Regions from separate parts of the Homo sapiens genome. Here all the other regions are linked to region 3. Evidence: promoter capture Hi-C in human tissues and cell types (Jung and others, 2019). All regions are on one chromosome and are shown on one strand. Each heading gives the region's core, a stretch centred on a gene start or on the middle of the fragment in contact. The rest is flanking DNA. Distances are from core to core; before and after follow the strand shown.

What was found. Contacts are between HindIII fragments. The study calls those that stand out against the background at their distance.
Region 1: a contact is called between a fragment that was not itself captured here and the fragment with the promoter of ZNF592 in region 3, in 2 of the 25 tissues and cell types used here (mesenchymal stem cells and spleen).
Region 2: a contact is called between a fragment that was not itself captured here and the fragment with the promoter of ZNF592 in region 3, in 2 of the 25 tissues and cell types used here (spleen and thymus).

Annotation. Positions count from the first base shown.
Region 1 is chr15:84,860,123-84,864,173 of GRCh38, forward strand. It overlaps ALPK3 (alpha kinase 3), which reads left to right. Exons shown (of 14, transcript NM_020778.5): 10 at 2,513-2,793; 11 at 3,430-3,518. Among named protein-coding and RNA genes, the nearest start is that of SLC28A1, 23 kb to the right of the region's middle. RefSeq lists enhancers at 1,996-2,497, 3,066-3,567, 3,568-4,051. The HindIII fragment of the contact is 9,691 bases long and covers 1-4,051 here.
Region 2 is chr15:84,841,542-84,845,512 of GRCh38, forward strand. The region is part of intron 5 of ALPK3 (alpha kinase 3); the gene reads left to right. Among named protein-coding and RNA genes, the nearest start is that of ALPK3, 26 kb to the left of the region's middle. The HindIII fragment of the contact is 3,856 bases long and covers 398-3,971 here.
Region 3 is chr15:84,746,896-84,750,631 of GRCh38, forward strand. It overlaps ZNF592 (zinc finger protein 592), which reads left to right and starts at 1,697. Exons shown (of 11, transcript NM_014630.3): 1 at 1,697-1,769. RefSeq lists enhancers at 849-1,148, 1,221-2,060, 2,589-2,668 and silencers at 1,219-1,638, 1,699-2,188. The HindIII fragment of the contact is 21,328 bases long and covers 1-3,736 here.

The sequences.
Region 1 (4,051 bases), core at 1,385-3,884, 110 kb after region 3:
AGGGAGGACCCTCTTTAAGGGCTTGGAATCTGGTCCCAATCCACATACTGCTCCTCTTTGCCTCTTAGTTTAGGATATGGCTTGGGAGATGATGGAGGAGGACTGCTGTATCAGAAGATTATGGGGGAAGAAGTGACCAAGGGGGCCACTGCACAGGAGTTAGTTCACCCTTGTGCCCTTTGCCCATGTCAGAGTCTTTGATCCAGGGCAGAACCGGCCACCAGGGCATGTCTTATCCTGCCAGCTCCTACCCAGGGTTTCTCACAGTGCTCTGTGGACCCTGGTATTAGATTCACACAGGGAACCTGCTAGAAATGCAGTTTCCTGGTCCCTGCTGCACTGCAGACATCTTTAATGACCTAGGAGGGACCTAGGAATATTGCGTTTTCAGCAGGCCCCCTGGTGATCATGAAATACCTTCAAAGTTTGATACACATTTGAAGGGCTCAAATAGGGATGGGCACGTACTGCTCCTACAAGAGACAGGCTAAGGCTTGGGACTGTGAAGGCAGCCAGTGATAAAAAGATGTTTGGAGCTGTATTTGCTAACAAATGCATTAATTCCTTCATTCTCTCACTCTTTCAATCACTCATTCATCCAACTAGTGACTTTGTTTTGAGATGGAGTCTCACTCTGTTGCCCAGGCTGGAGTGCAGTGGTGTGATCTTGGCTCACTGCAACCTCCGCTTCCTGGGTTCAAGCAATTCTCGTGCCTCAGCCTCCCCAGTACCTGGGATTACAGGCATGCACCACCATGCCCAGCTCGTTTTTGTATTTTTAGTAGAGATGGGTTTCACTATGTTGGCAGGTCTGGTCTCGACCTCCTGACCTCAAGGGATCCACCTGCCTTGGCCTCCCAAAGTGCCAATTAGTGACTTTTGTTTAGTAATCAAATAAAATTTAATCAATATCAAATAAAACCTCAACCTCAAAACTAAGTAATAATTATTTAATATCATCAAACATCCAGTCAGATTTCCCCAACTGTCTCATATGCGTTGGTTTATTTGAATCAGGAACCACTCATTGCTTTTGGCTGATGCAGCTCCCAAGTCTCTCTTAATATTTAACAGTTCCTCCTACTTTATTTGTTTTCTTCCTTTGCCATATGTTTGTTAAAGTCACTGGTATAGAATTTCTAACATTCTGGATTTTGTTGATTGTGTTCCCATTTAACATGTTAAATGCTTCTTCCAAATTGGTAATCAGATTTAGAGGTTTGGTCAGATTCAGGTGTGATTTTTTTTTTTGGAGGAGGGGCAAGAATAACTCACAGGTGCTGTGTATACCTTTTGCATCCTATCTGGAGGCACATACTGTCAGATTGTTTCACTTTTAGTAATGTTAAGGTTGGTCACTGGGTTCATTCAGGTGCATCTGTGTGATCCATCCCCTTTTAAAGTTAAAAACAATCTGATACAAACCCTATTGTTATCTAGGGGTTTTGGCAGTCACTGATTATTGCCTAAATCTATTATTTCATTAGCAGTTGCAACATGGAGATAGTTTAATTTGGTCTTTTCTTCTTCATTCATTAGCTGATTTTTTTCTGTAAAAAAGGGATGATTATTTGGTTATCCCAATACGTTAAGTTCCAACAGGAAATGAAGGATAAATACTTGCTCTTTTCCCTTTAGTTACTAGAATTTAGAATAACGAGTTGGTGCCCTACCCTACCGTTTTCCATAGGTGACCAGTGAGGTTTATTTTTTGAGGGAGGAGATTGGATTCTTTTTTTTGTTGTTGCAACTATGAATACATGGATTTTTAACATATTTGATATGTTCAATATGTTGCAGTAATTATTTTTGTTGCCAAGATTGTTTCCTTTTTGGCCCAAGGGAGCCCCTTCAGGTTGGCCCCTGTGTCCTTCTGCCAAGTCTCTAATAGCTTTTGCTAGCTCTCTTGCTTTCTGGATTCACACGATATTTCAGGTCCTTGCTGTACACTTTCTGCCTAGACCTGGAATCAACCATTTCTTTAGAAAGCTCTGGTTTCCCTTTAATGGGAAATTATATTTAGCGGTCACAATTTGAGCATTAGGGGTGCTCATTGCTGCTGGATTGGTCCTGCAAACTTTTTGTTTCAGTCAAACGTGTTGGTTGAAATGGAGTCATGTATTCATCTGATCAAAACAACGAATTCCAAAACAAAGTAATTCTGGTATTCTGTATTGATTATTGTTGCCACAGAAAACCCCTGCCTTCCACAAACACATCCTGAGCACTGTGTTTGGACAGTGCTTAGGACGCATTTGTGGAAGGCAGGGGTTATGTGATGGATACCACATGGGTACCGCTAGATGGCAGGGGTTGAATCAAATAGAGTTTCTGCCCCAAGGAGCTCATAGTCTGGTGGGGACTTAATGTGCCCAAAGAGCAGGCGTGGACGGAAAGTGAGCCCAGCAGGTTGGCAGGGTGGGAGGCTCTTCTGGCCTTTTCCTTCCCTGTGAGCCCCACATTGGTGAGACAGGAGCTCCTGGTCTCCCACATTTCTCCTGTTCCCCTTCAGTTGGAGAAGAGATTGAGATGACCCCTATGGTGTTTGCTAAGGGTCTGGCTGACTCTGGCTGCTGGGGGGACAAGCTCTTTGGGCGACTGGTAAGCGAGGAGCTCCGAGGGGGTGGATATGGGTGTGGCCTTCGGAAGGCCTCCCAGGCCAAGGTCATCTACGGGCTGGAACCCATCTTCGAGTCGGGCCGCACGTGCATCATCAAGGTGTCCAGCCTGCTTGTGTTTGGGCCCAGCAGTGAGACTTCTCTTGTGGGCAGAAACTACGACGTCACCATCCAGGTACTATGTCCCATCTTCACACCCCATTCTTTTATTCTCTCACCCCCTCCCCTTTCCCAGCCCAGGTCCTGTTAGGATGCCCAGTATCGAGGCAGAAGGCATCTCAGTCTCAACCTTATGAGGCTCCTAGGAGGACCTTGTGGAAAGCCTGAGATGCAGCCCAGAATTCAGATGCTTGGCCTCAGAGAGCTTGAGAGCTTCAAAACGACTTGGGCCATAGTTTTCAAACTCTATGTTTGCAGCAGAAACCTTCCCCCTGCCCCATACATAATCTCTCATGGAAGCCTTGTTTATATGTGAGATAAAAGGGGGGTGCTGTGGGTGGGGTGGGCAGTCTTCCTGGCTCTACACAGAGTGGTCTCTGGGACACTGTCACATACCATAAGGACTCCCAAAAATAGTTCAGAAATCACTTCGAAAACCTCAGTTTGAAAAGAAGTCCAAAGCCGCTTGTTATACAAAAGAGGAAAATGAGATGCAGAGTGGGGAGCAGGGAGGAGTAAGCCCTTCCTCCCCCAGGGCTGGAATCCTCCTCTCAGTCCCCTAACAGAATAGGTAGCCCACTCACTTAGGGGTAGACACAGTGGAGGACTGAGGAATTTCTTTGCTCACCACATTTGGTTCCCTCATCCACAGGGGTGCAAGATCCAGAACATGAGTCGGGAGTACTGCAAAATCTTCGCAGCAGAAGCCCGGGCCGCGCCTGGCTTTGGGGAGGTGCCTGAGTAAGTACGCAGCGAGGAGGACGTGCAGTGTGCAGCACTGTTGCCTTGGGCTTCTGCAAAGACAGTGATTTCACAGCCTCCCAGGGGCATCCTGCGTTATGCCCATGTGCAAATAGGCTCACAGCCCCATGCTCAGCTCAGTGGCCTCACAAAATGTAGAAATAGAGACCTCATTTACTCTCCACTTGAGAAAAGCCTCTGCTCTGGACTTGAGTCCCGCCCACCCCGGTTCCTCATTCTTTAGTGCAGATGTTGCTGATTGCAGAGTTTGGACACAGCAATTTCTGGGACTCCATGAAGGTGATGGGGTGGGTTAAGCTAGGCAGACTGATCAGGACACTTCCGTGGTATGCAGGCAGGGTCAGTGTGGATTTTTGTAGGAGTCAGCTATAAATGGCAATTGTTTGCATTTTGAGACTTGAACTCTGACCTTTGCATACCTGGGGTCCCACTGGCAGAGAGCCACAATCTGGTTGAATCCTCTCTAAAGGTGCTCCTTCTGTTTGACACATACATGCCTCAATCCCTCACCC
Region 2 (3,971 bases), core at 1,076-3,575, 95 kb after region 3:
AGAACTAAGTAAGTGGCAGTTGGGATCAGATATGACTATGGTGGGAAACAGAGGCAAAGTGTTTTTACTTGGTAACAGGAGTGCCATCATCTTCTAGGGAACAGGTAGCTGACAGAGAAAAGATTATGTTTTGTGTGGAGACAGGGGTAGTGGAGTGTCCACTCCCCAAAGAGGCAGATGGGTGGCAGCGTTAAGGAGCTTGAGGGGTGGGATTGAGAGGGCAGGAAGGAAACAATTCGTCCCTTTTGGTTATTTCTTTATGTTTCAGGGGCTTGGGGGGCATTATTTCACAGTGGTTTTGGGAGACAGAGTGTTTTATAGTGGGACAGAAAGAAGACAGTGTTTCTTATGAGTGGCAGAAGGAAAAGTATTTCAAGAGTGGGGCTGGGGTGGATAAAATAGATAGAACATATTTACACTGAGACAAATACTGGTTATTTATTTGAAGTCCCAATTTAACTGGGTGTCGGTATTTCTTTCTTTCTTTGGTTTGTTTATTTGTTTGTTTGTTTTTTGAGATGGAGTTGCCCAGGCTGGAGTGCAGTACAGTGGTGCGATCTCAGCTCACTGCAGCCTCCGGCTCCCGGGTTCAAGCAGTTCTTGTGTCTCAGCCTCCAAAGTAGTTGGAATTACAGGTGTGAGGCACCATGCTCAGCTAATTTTTGTATTTTTAGTAGAGACAGGGTTTTGCTGTGTTGACCAGGCTGATCTTGAACTCTTGACCTCAAGTGATCTGTCCACCTCAGCCTCCCAAAATGTTGGGATTACAGGCGTGAGCCGCCGTGCCCAGCCCAGTATTTCTTTTTGCTAAATCTGATAACCTTAAGTGGAGACATCCTCTGGTTTTGGTGAGAACTAAGATGAGACTGTTTCTTAGGATAGAGGAAGCAGTTATAGATCGGGAATGGCTTCATGGGGGAACAGGAGGAAAGCAGTGTTTCCCAGGGGTAGGGACAGAGGACAGGTGGTTTCTCGGAGCAGTGAAGGGAAGCACATGAGGGACAAGCTGATACAGCACCTGGCAGAGGGCAAAGGGGAAAGGATGCTTTGTGGAGAACAGGAGGGGCTTTCCCATGGAGAGAACTTTCATGGTGGGAAGGAGGGAAAGACTAGTTTTAAGGGTGACCATGGGAAATGGTTTTATTTCATGGGTGCTAAGGTTAGACTGTAGGAACAGTAGTTCAGAGGGCTTTGGAGTGGAACAAACCTCAAGGACCTAAAACCAGACTTTCTGGAACCTGTTCCTGACTCTTGTCCCCCTCATGCCTGGTCTCCTGTAGTTTTGGCCACTGGAATGGTAAGTTCACAGTGGCCCGGGGAAGGCTTTGTGGGGCTGCTGCACATGCCTGACAGCCCACAGGCTGGACAGCAGGGACTTTTGGAAGAGATGGCTCTCATAGGCCCTCATAGCTCATTTAGGAAGGGACCAGGCTGGTGGCCAAGTGAGTGTGCAAATCTGGCTTCTCTGCCTAAATGGTGAGGAACCCAATACCAGATGGTGGCATCCTCCTGGTAGGGCCAGAGGAGGAAGTACCAGCCCCCTCTTCCTTGCCTCCCAAAGGTAGGAGGAGGGGCTCAGGCAGTGTGGTACCTGAGAAGTTGTCTGTGTTGGTTCCACTGCTCCAACAAAAACCTCATGGTTAGGCTGGGTACAGTGGCTCATGCCTGTAATCCCAGCACTTTGGAAGGCCGAAGCAGGTGGCTCACTTGAGGTTAGGAGTTTGAGACCAGCTTGGCCAACATGGTGAAACCCCATCTTTACTAAAAATACAAAAAATTAGCCGGGTGTGGTGGCACGTGCCTGTAATTCTGACCACTTGGGTGGCTGAGGCAGGAGAATTGCTAGAACCTGGGAGGTGGAGGTTGCAGTGAGCAATAGTTTAGATAGTCTCATGAGACTAAGGAGACAAAAATTAGAGCCCATGGTCTCAAGAGTGGGAGCCCTTGTAAGCCCCCTGGGTTTTGGGTTGGGACTCTGAAGGTTTGTACCCTAGGAGAAAGGGGAATCAAGTAAATTAGTCTCACGGTATTGAGTTACTGACGAGCTCCAAGTTACATGGATAACTAAGAAATATCTCAATCCCTGAAATTAGAATTAGGTGGTTCAAGATACCTAGTGCCCTCAGGCACCTGGCAGAAGCAAACAAAAATCATATCTGGAGGATGACAGCATCATCTTAAGCCTGAAATTATTTTTAAAAAGTATTTCAAATATAATATTCAGCATGAAATGAAGATAAGTCCACAGAAGATAGAAATTGGCCCACAGGTTGCCGGGCACAGTGGCTCACGCTTGTAATCGCAGTACTTTAGGAGGCTGAGGTGGGCAGATCACTTGAAGCCAGGAGTTCAAGACCAGCCTGGCCAATGTGGTGAAACCCTGTCTCTACTAAAAATATAAGAATTAGGCCAGGCATGGTGGCTCATGCCTGTAATCCCAGCACTTTGGGAAGCTAAGGTGGGTGGATAACAAGCTCAGGAGTTCAAGACCAGCGTGGCCAAGATGGTGAAACCCTGTCTCTACTAACAATACAAAAATTACCTGGGCGTGGTGGCGGATGCCTGTAATCCCAGCTATTCGGGAGGCTGAGGCAGATAATTGCTTGAACCTGGGAGGCGGAGGTTGTGGTGAGCTGAGATTGCACCACTGCACTCCAGCCTGGGTGACAGAGTGAGGCTCCATCTCAAAAAAACCCAAAAAAACAAAAAACAAAAATTAGCCAGGTGTGGTGGTGCATGCCTGTAATTTCAACTACTTGGGAGGCTGAGGCACGAGAATCACTTAAACCTGGGAAGCAGAGGTTGCAGTGAACTGAGATTGTGCTACTGCACTCCAGCCTCGGTGACAGAGTGAGATTCTGTCTCAAAAAACAAAAGAAAAGAAAGAAATTGGCCCACAGGTTTCCAACTTTTGGAATTATTAGACATGAATTATAAAATTAAAATTAGTTTACCTCCTTCATATATCGAAGGAGATAAGAAGACAAGATTGCAAATTTCACCAAATACCTAGAAACTATAAAAAGTGGAAAAGGCCGAGCGCAGTGGTTCACGCCTGTAATCCCAGCACTTTGGGAGGCTGAGGCAGATGGATCACCTGAGGTCAGGAGTTCGAGACTAGCCTGGCCAACATGGTGAAACCCCATCTCTACTAAAAATACAAAACTTAGCTGGGTGTGGTGATGCACATCTGTAATCCCAGCTACTCAGTAGGCTGAGGCAGGAGAATCGCTTGAACCCGAGAGGTGGAGGTTGCAGTGAGCTAGGATCACGCCACCGCGCTCCAGCCTGGGCAACAGAGCGAGACTCCGTCTCAAAAAAAAAAAGGTGGAAAAGACTTGAAAATGAACCAACTAGAATTCCAGAGCTGAAAAATACAATAACTAATATTATTTATTCTGGTTATGGCAGTTTTATTTCTGGATAAGATGGAGTAAATACACTTGATTCTGTATCTCCCACTGAATGCAGCCTAAAATTTAGGCAAAATGTATAATACACCTACTTGACAACTTTGAAAAGCAAATAGTCGCAGACAGATTGGGGATGAAGACCAGAACTCAAAGTACCACTGAACCTACGGTGTTTACTTTTTTTTTTTTTCCCTTCTGGCATTTCCTGGCCTGGTCTTAATGCTGTTTGAAACCCAGATGTAAACATTAACTTGGGCAGAGAGAGTTCCAGAAGCCCTCTAGATCAGCCTTCAGGAATGGAAAAGAGATTTCTTGGCAGTGACAGTGGTAGCAACAGAGGCCACAGGTGCCTAAAACTTTGAGAGAAGAGAATCTTCCCCTCTATTCAGAGGAGCTGTGATCCTAAGAGTGGGACAAGTCCCTGTTCCTTTTTTTTTCTCCTGGGTCTCTTCCTTGGTCCAGATCACAGGCTCATGTGTGAAACAATGTGGCAGAGAGGGGTAAAGGAAGCTCCAGCTATTTGGCCAGAAGACTGAAAAAGGGGGCCCTATGGGGGAA
Region 3 (3,736 bases), core at 447-2,946:
GCGCATGCCTGTAATCCCAGCTACTCGGGAGGCTGAGGCAGGAGAATCGGTTGAACCCAGGAGGCAGAGGTTGCAGTGAGCCGAGATTGTGCCATTGCACTGCAGCCTGGGCAACAAGAGCGAAACTCTCTCTCAAAAAAAAAAAAAAAAAAAAAAAAAAAAAAAGCCAGGCATGGTGGCGTGCGCCTGTAATTCCAGCTACTTTGAAGGCTGAGGCTGGATTATCACTGGAACTCTGGAGGTAGAGGTTGCAGTGAGCCGAGACCACGCAATTGCACTACAGCCTGGGCTGCGAGACCGAAACTCCGTCTCCAAAGACAAAAAAAAAAAACAAAAAACAATCAACTTTTCCCTTTACTCTTTTGCAGAGAGGGAGGGTCTCGCTATGTTGCCCAGGCTGAACTCAAACTTCTCGGCTTAAGGGATGCTTTTGCCTCAGCTTCCACAGTAGGACCCAACTTTCTCCTTTACTCTTGGTACTTCTTGAGCTCCAGGCCTACTTTTCTCTCTCTCACTGCCAAACATTTGAAATCATCACCCTTTATTAACTCCATTGCTTCATTGGCTAACATACTCTTTAGACAAGCTCTTCAACTCAGTTCTGTGCCTGGTGCACAGCAGGCTCCGGCTGCATGTTAGTTCCAGCCATCTTGCACATTTGCATCTCCTTCCTGGAGAAGGAATTTCTCCATGGTTAGCAGTGTGTGCTCACTCCTAGTCACCAGGGCCTCATCTCCGTGTTCCCACACCCTGACCTTGCTGCCGCCCTAATGCTGCGGACCCAGTTTCCAGGTACGCCGGGTTCTTGGAAGGTCCTGCCGGTCACCCTCCCAGCCTTCTGCCAGACTCACTGAGTTCTCACCCTGCACAGTCATCGTTTCCCCAGTAACCCTGAGAGATCTCCCAGTCTACCTCTTCGAGGCACCCGTTGCCAGTCCTCCATCTCTGTTTGCCGCGCGTCCCTCGGTTACCCCAGAGGCAACACGTCAGGCTGCCCCGCACCTCCAAGCCTGCGCGAATGTCCTTGTAGCCAGCTATGACCAAACATTTAGGGCGCACCTGAGCGCCAGGCCCACGCCACCCCTGCTTGCTTTCACTTAACAGCCTCGACTAGGCCCCCTATGCGCCAGGTCTCAGTGAAGAGGACGCAGTCCCGGGTCCTGGGCGCTCTTTGCCGGGCGAGACAGCTGCGTAGGCAGATCCTGTTCCTCTAGTGGGCGGCCTCGGCCCCTGCCCCTGCCCCGAGGCGCGTCAGAGGACAAGAGGCCCAGGTCGCTGGCAGCGGCTGCCTGCCCGACCGCACAGGGTGCCTAGCACGGGTGGCGGGGACTGGAGCCGGGCGGGGGCCGGCCGGGGTCGGGGGTCCAGCCCTGAGCGGCGCCGTCCCCGCCCCGCCCCGTCCCGTCGCGTCCCGCCCCGCCCTACCCGCCGCCGCCGTCGTCGCCGTCGCCGGGCCTGCGCCGCGCAGCCCGCCTCGGGCGGGAGGCGGGAGGCGGGAGGCCGGGCCCAGGCCGGGGCAGCCCCTCCACCGCACCGTCCTGGGCCGGTGCCCAGGTCCGAGTCGCCTTCCGCCTGCCCCCCCCCCCCCCCAATCCCCCGCCGCGGCAGCCCCAGCCAGGTCCCGCCGCCAGGCCGGCTCCCGCCCCCGCTCCGCCCCCGGAGCCGCAGCCCCGCCCGCCATCGCCGTCGCCATGTTGTGGCTCCCGCAGCCGGCGCTGGGGACGCGCGCGGCCGAGACTCTGGCCTGCAGTCGCCGCCGCCGCCGCCAGGTAAGCGCCCCCCGCGGGCCGGGCCGAGCGGGGCCTGCGGGCCGGGGCAGCCCCAGCCTGGGCCCGGGAGGATCGCAGCCGGGACCGAGTCCGAGCCCGAGCCGGGGCCCGGCCCTGCAGCCTGGCGGACCCTGGCCGCCGCCAGAGGCGGCAGCCACTTCCCCCGACCGCCGCCTGGCGGGCCCGGGCCGCCACCCCACCCCGCCCCCGGCCGTCGGGCGCCGGCCCCTTCCGCCGCTGCGACCGCCGCTGCGACCGCCGCTCCTTGGCAGGCCGGGCACGCTGCTGTCCTCCGCGCTGGGCGGGACGTGCGGCCGCCCTCGGCGATAGCCGGCGGCCCCCAGCCCGGGCACGGATAACGGTGCCACTTTCTCCCTCTGGGACGGCCTGTCAGCCCGACCGTCCCCGCCGCCCGAAGAGCTGTCGCCGTCACAGGGCAGACACTTCGGGGAACGACCCTCTTTGGCGCTCCTCAGTACTCCCCTCCCCTGAGCCCAAGTTCTGACCCTGAGGAAGGTTTCTCCCGGAGCAGACAGGTATTCCTAGAGCTCCAGAGTTGGGGTCCTCAGGGGTGACCAGGCCTGTTGATCAGGGTGAAAATTGTCTCTCTGCAAGGGCTCTTCCTGCCAACGAGGGGGTTGGCGGGAGGCTCAGTGTGACCTGAGGGAGGACAGGAGAGCGTCTGCTGGACAGATGGCCTCCTGGCCTTGGATCAGCGTTTGTGAGGGGGAGGGGTCCGTATGACCTTAGGTATGCCTGCTCCTGAGTACTGCAGGATTATTGAAGCTGTTTAGGGATTTTAAACCATTTTTTGAGTAGGCCAAAGGTGGCATTAAAGGTCCTGGATTGGAATAAGTCCACAGGCCCACCCAGGGAAGCATGTTTGGCATCCAGGACTAGTCTAGAATAGGACTGGCAGTAGAAGAATGGGACTTGGGGAGTAAGACGGTATTTGGCTTATGGTTTGCCCACTTGAGTTCAGGCCTGTGCTCATGGAGGGCCTGTAGGGTGCTTCTGTCGCGGGTGCAGTGTGGTGCACAGTGTGGCAGAGTGCGGAGGATGTGGACAGACAGATTCCTGGCCTGGTGGATGCTTGGTGGTATTTTAGTAGTCTGTTTCCTCAACCTCACTGTTACGTTACACAGTGAAAGGGGCAGAAGTGTGGTGCTAGTGCGTCCATTTTGATCATTTTCCAATTTTTCAACTAGTTGTGGCTTTGATTCATTAAATAAATTTTTACTGAGCACTTACTCTGTGCCAGGCACTGAGCTAGGTGTTGGGAGTACATTGGTAAGCCAGAAAGATACCATGTTTTAGTTCTTAGCCATTGGGAAAGTCTAATAATTAATAGTCGTGGCCGGGCGCGGTGGCTCGCGCCTGTAATCCCAGCACTTTGGGAGGCCGAGGCGGGTGGATCGCCTGAGATCAGGAGTTCGAGACCAGCCTGACCAACATGGTGAAACCCCGTCTCCACTAAAAAAATACAAAATTAGCCGGGTGTGGTGGTGCATGCCTGTAATCCCAGCTACTTGGGAGGCTGAGGCACGATAATTGCTTGAACCCGGGAGGCGGAGGTTGCAGTGACCTGAGATCGTGCCGTTGCACTCTAGCTTGGGCTACAGAGTGAGACTCCATCTCAAAATAAATAAATAGTCGTGGAAATTTATTCAACAACAAATATTTGTCAACAAATACGTGTTAGGCATTGTTCTAGATGCAGTGAACAAAGAAAGCAAAAATGATTGCCCTTGTGGTGCTTTCCTGGGAGTGGGGGAGAAGACAATAAATAAAATATATAACAAAAATATAGTCTGTTAAAAAGTGTGAAATGCTAAGGAGAAGAAGGAAGCAGGGAAGGAGAATCTGAGGTATCAGGGGTGGTAGTTGAATTTATATTATACGGTGGCCTGGGAAGGCTTCCTAAGAAGGTGTCTTTCGAGTAAAACTTGGAAGTGGTAAACTAATAA